2 separate regions of the Homo sapiens genome follow, and region 1 is linked to region 2. The links are contacts of gene promoters, found by promoter capture Hi-C in blood cells and fetal thymus (Javierre and others, 2016). All regions are on one chromosome and are shown on one strand. The core of a region is centred on a gene start or on the middle of the fragment in contact, and the rest is flanking DNA. Distances in the headings are between cores, read along the strand shown.

Region 1 (2,700 bases), core at 94-2,593, 580 kb before region 2:
GATAACCGAAATGTCTTGCTTCCCACAAGAAAATGGCTATTTCACTAACATATCCCTCTGTGCTTTCTCATAGTTACTTTCCAAAGATATTTTATTCTAAAGCGCCAAAATGAACAATGTAAGACATGGATTAACGTCGGGAGGGAAGAGCTCAGAATCTTCATAAAACCTTAAATCATCAAAACGGTGAAATTAGGAATTCTCATGCTAGTTCTTTGAAACAATTGACTTAATAGAGGAAACACATGCTTATGGTTTTTCACTAGGGAAACCATTTAAATACCTTTTTGTTTTGGTTAGAGTTGTTAACCAGCAAAAATATTTCCTAAATACCCGTGATTGACCTGTTAAATTAGAAATAGATTACCTCCCAATTACTTCACAAGTATTTGCTTAATTAACCTTTAATAATCACATCATTATTCAGTTTTCTGAGATAATTAATGAGAAAAGCTCTTTGAAAACTGTAAATTGCCTTGCAAATGTTAATTTCCTGATATCTTTTCTAAGTCTGGAAAAATTTCATTATATTAAACCTATAACGTGTAATATGACTTCTGAGATGAAGCTTACATTTATCTCCAAGTTTTGAAAAATACATGAGTTGTGGCTAATAACAGACTGATTTTCATATATGACTTATATGAACTGTCTCACTAATTTATCAGCCCACTGTGTATATCAGGTTAATATCAAAAAGTTTAAAACAGTTGTATATTTCTGGCTTCTGATTAAATCACAATTTTAATAAAACCCACTCTATTAAACCACTAGTAGATGGAGCCCCAGATTAAAGCTACAGATCCTAAATCAGTTCAAGATAGTTAAGTAACTCAGGCACACACTTGAATTCAGCTCCTTTACTTTGTTTCAAAGTCACTGACACTGTCGACATGCCCTTTAAAAATCATCATTGAGTAATTAACCTGTTCTTTGTTTAGTAAAGCATATCTGAGAAAAGATTTTCTTAGGCATCTCTTTTATCATTCTTATTCTCCCAACAAGATTTTCAACAAATACTTCAGCCTGCACGTATACTGCTAATCAACACTTTTATGTTGTCTAAACTATCAATCTATGAAGAGATATTAAACCACTGGTGAAATTAACAGTTTTTTCATCTAAGTAAAGTTAGAACATGAGGCCCATGTTCAAGGAATAAGTGCACAAAGAAACTTTAGAGCAAAGAAAACAGAGTGGCCATTGTGTGTCTGTAAAAGTTATCGAAATGCAGGCCAAAAATAACTAGACTGATATCTTGTGAAATTTATGCTAATGTATTTTGATATAAAAATTACATGAAATATTAAAGCCTATGAATATAAAACTTGGTAGGAATCTTATTCTCTATAGTAAAAGGATTTTTTTTTCAACATTAGAAAGGACGTACAATTCAGTGTTTAACTGCTGGCAGTAATGAGATTCTGCAGCTGATTCCCTGGCTGAATCCCAGTGTCCGAGGTTGAGAAGAAGAAAGCTAGTCCCCTGACTAGCAGATCTCAGGATAGAACACTTCCTAGTCACAGCAGACTTCAACTAGAAGTTGCCCCAGTCTTAAGAAAGTGATTTTCTTCTGCACAGAGATTGTTATTTTTATATTTGCCCTTTACATTCCACTAGGTAAGAATTTTTATTTTCTCCCGTTCTCCTTCAGAAGCCACCTGCTCTAGGGAGCCATCTCTGATTAAGCGTAATTAAAAAGGATGTGTGCTCCTTTTTAAGTACAAGCATGCTCAATATTAATTTTGCTTGTCACATGTTGCTTAGTTGATCACATATCTTTAGTTCAACAACAATCTATTAATTCAGCAAAAATTATTGAGGACCTGTTTTCACCAAGTATTGTGCTGGATGCTGGGATAACAAAATTATTGGTTCATTCATTTAATATTTATAAAGTACATCCTGTGTCTCTGGTCCTGGCTTATGTTAAGGGAAGACAGTGATGAGCCAGATAAACAAAGTTCCCAGTCTAGCAGAAAGGGTAAACAATTATAACAAAGAAGTGTAAAGACTGTTATGGTAAGGAAAGATAAGGAGTGTGGGAAAACTTAGTAAGAGCATCTAACTTGACTAAATTGTGTGTGGGGGTGGGAGAAGGAGAATTAGAGAAGCTTTGGCCTCTAAACAGAGACCTGAAGGTAGATAGGAGTCAGCCACGCCTACAGGTGGGATTTGACCTCAGATTTGCGTTTTAGAGGGAACACTGAGGCTGCTTCTTGGAGTGTAGTTTGGAAGAAGTCGAGACCAAAAAAAAAAAAAAACAGTTCAGATTTTGTTACAATAGTCTAGGGAGGAGATGATGGTGGCCTGGAGTAAAGCAAAGGGGATTAAGAAAAGTGAACAGATAAGAGAGAGATTTAGGAGATAGATAGAAACAGCAGGGGTGTGTGGGAGAGATAGGAGATGTGGGTAACTCAGATTTCAACTTGGGAAGCTGAATGAAGGTGGTGGCATTCACTGAGGGGGGAATGAGAAAGATGAGCAGATGGGAGACAATGTTAGTTTAACTTTGGACAAGGAAATTTAAAGTACCTATGCATACATAGGTACTTTAAATACATCTGAGTAGAAATATCAGTAAGCCGTTCATTACTTGGATCTGGAGTTTAGCAGGGAGATAGGACTGGAGAAGTGAGTCATCAGCATACACTACATATGCCTGAGTATAAGGTGCTTCTGAAAATAAGGTGAGCCTCC
Region 2 (2,700 bases), core at 179-2,678:
AACACTGCGTTTTGTTGTTGTTTTAGCTACAAGGAAGGGTATGCAATATGCAGTAACTATTCCAACAGCTTCAAGCAAGTCATCTGCTACGACTAGAAAAAGTAGCAATTAGGTCCCAAACAGCAAAGACATAAAAAAGATGTAAGCAGAAGCCTCACCATCTGAAAAGAAGGCCCATCAGCACCTCTTCCGAGAAATACTTCCCTTCCCCCACCTTTAAGTAGGCACTTGAGACTGCCAAGATCCATTTCTTTATTAACTGGTGCCCACTTGGGGCAACTGTACACCAAGCTGCTCTTAGGCCTACTCTAATCCCTTCCAAAAGTGCTCAAATGAGGCTACGGCCGGGGTAAGTCCCGTCAGGGCCCAATTCTTCCTGACTCCTCTTCTCCACCCCACCTCCTCCGCCCCGCCCCAGTAGGCGATCGCCCGGCCAGAGAAAGGACACCCGGCCCAGGGACTGGCAGAAATTGCCCGCAAGAGAAGGCTTAGGCGACCGAAGGCCTCCGCCATAGCAGGACTTGGGAAGCACCGCCCCCAGCGCACCTCCCCACACCCGGCTAATCGGCGAACCTCTGCTTTCGACACCCTCTATCCCCAGCAGAGGCAGCGGAGAAGACAAGGCCGGGAGGCACCGGGCTAGGCTGCGCACCAGGCCCAGGCCTGTCCCTCGGGACCGCGCGTGCCGCCTGAATCCGCTCCCCCGTCGGGCCCGGTCCAGCTGGCGCGGCGGCCACCCTCACCTGGATGACCTCGTTGACCTCCCGGATACATTCCACCATGTGTTGTAGAATCTGCTCGGCCGTGAGCACCTCGTAGCGGTAATCCTCCTCCTGCTCATGCCCCGGCCCGCCACCACCACCGCCGCCGCCGCCGCCGCCGCCACCGCCGGGCCCCAGAGCGCTGCCGCCGCCACCGCCCGTCTCCCCGCACAGCAGTCCGTCCCGCTCCCCGCCGACGCCCAGCCCGGGCTCCACCAGCTCCACCTCGCCCAGATCCAGGGTATCATCGTCCGGCTCGTCGTCGTCTTCGTCCTCCTCCTCCTCGGCGCCGCTGTCCTCCTCACTGCACTCCTCGTCCTCGTCGAACTCGTAGTTGTAGCCCTCGTCCGAGTCCATGGCGCGACGCGCGGGGGCCCGGCGGACGCTGGCCGAGGCGGGGAGAGGGCGGGGACGCCGAGGCCCCGGCTCTCGCTCCGGCTCCGGCTGATGTCCGGACGCAGGCCTGGCTCCGGCCCCGCGAGCCGCGGCTCCTCCCCAGGAGCGGCGGTTGGCGTTTGACGGCTGGTGGCGGCGGGGAGGGCGCGGAGGAGGGAGGGAGGGAGCGAGGGGGCCGCTTGCTGCCCGCCTCAGTCAGACGCGGCTCCGCTCCGGCCTCCGAGAGAAAACAGTCCCCAACGCCACCTCCACGGCCGCTGCTATCGCTACTGAGCCAACAAAGGGGCGTGCGTCACCGCGTCGCGCTGCGTCGTCGCGTCACTCCTCTTTGCGTCACTGCGCCCCGCCCCACCGCCCCTGCGTGGAGCCCGGGGAGACCCCACGGCCCGGCCTTCCTGGGCCTGGGACCCGAGGGGAGCCGAGCGGGAATTGCTTTCCTGGTTCGATCCGCTGCCGCTGTGAGGGCCGAGCGGAAACCCGTAGACCTTTTATGTGAAGAGATTGCGGCCTCCTGGTCACCAGTCACCGAGAGAGGGACCCCTGGACCGCCTACGTGGTGGTGTCTGCCGCAGGCCATAGGGATCCAGCCCACTTAGGCAGTCCCTTGGGGACGCGGCCTTCCCTCCGGAGCGGAAAGGCGCTTCCCGCCCGCCCTGCGGTAATCCCGGAAGCCCTCAGCCGTTAAGCTAAAATTTCTGTTGCTTTGGCTACTGATGGAAACCTGTTGTAAGTGGAACCTCTAAACTGTATGACAGGTGAACCCACTTTAGGTAGCTGTGTGATTCTGTCCACTTGTACAGACGTGCAGTGGTTTTTAAGTCTCCTATAATGACGTCATTTTAAAGAGGCATTTCCTCCACCCCGCTGACAAGAGCGCCTCTTGAGGGCCCTAAACAATGTAAACAGCGATGATTTTCATGAATTGAGCACTGTGTAAGGGCTTTACATATATTCTGTCTCATCTTCACGGAGCCATAGTACCCATTTTATACCTGAGGAACCTGAAGCTCAGAAAGGAAAAGGGACCTGGCCAAGACCACATAACCCTTGCCCTATTTTAACCGCTGGATGCCCCAAAACATGAATCATAAAAATGCTTTGTAATGTAGATATATTATGTACTATGTAGTACATAAAAGACATGAATGCTTCAACAAAATACAGGCAATAATAGAAATATCTACAAGGGCCAAATGTAGCCAGAGAGATAATGCTTGAATCTCATCTGAAAGTGTGCTATGTGAGCTGAGTGTTGATGAATGGCTAGGAGTTCAACAGAGAAGGTAGGGAAGATGGTCTAGCCGCAGAGAACAAGCAAAAGCGCAGAAGGTGTCAAGTAAGTAATAGTTTGGGGAGCTTAAAGTGCATGGAGGGTACATGGCAAAATATTAGGCAAGTTAGTCAGGGGTCATGTCAGTTAAGAGCATTTTATGCCTAAGAGTGGGCTTAAATCTTTGCAAACAGGACATGCGAGCCAGAGAAGTGTTATGAAGGAAGAAGAGGCATAAGAAGGCTCCCTCTTGAGATAATCTGAAGAATTGGC

What was found. Contacts are between HindIII fragments. The CHiCAGO score rates a contact against its expected background, and 5 or more counts as called.
Region 1: a fragment that was not itself captured here is called in contact with the fragment with the promoter of ARIH1 in region 2 in 2 of 17 cell types (naive CD4 T cells and activated CD4 T cells); the score reaches 6.1 in naive CD4 T cells.

The regions. Positions count from the first base shown.
Region 1 is chr15:73,048,497-73,051,196 of GRCh38, reverse strand. No RefSeq gene overlaps it. Among named protein-coding and RNA genes, the nearest start is that of NEO1, 2.6 kb to the left of the region's middle. The HindIII fragment of the contact is 1,546 bases long and covers 571-2,116 here.
Region 2 is chr15:72,473,058-72,475,757 of GRCh38, reverse strand. ARIH1 (ariadne RBR E3 ubiquitin protein ligase 1) reads right to left here and starts at 1,428. Exons shown (of 14, transcript NM_005744.5): 1 at 744-1,428. The coding sequence starts at 1,118. TMEM202-AS1 (TMEM202 antisense RNA 1) reads left to right here and starts at 1,519. Exons shown (of 4, transcript NR_135678.1): 1 at 1,519-1,883. RefSeq lists enhancers at 305-514, 1,965-2,064 and silencers at 1,065-1,294, 1,337-1,533, 1,385-1,724. The HindIII fragment of the contact is 10,721 bases long and covers 1-2,700 here.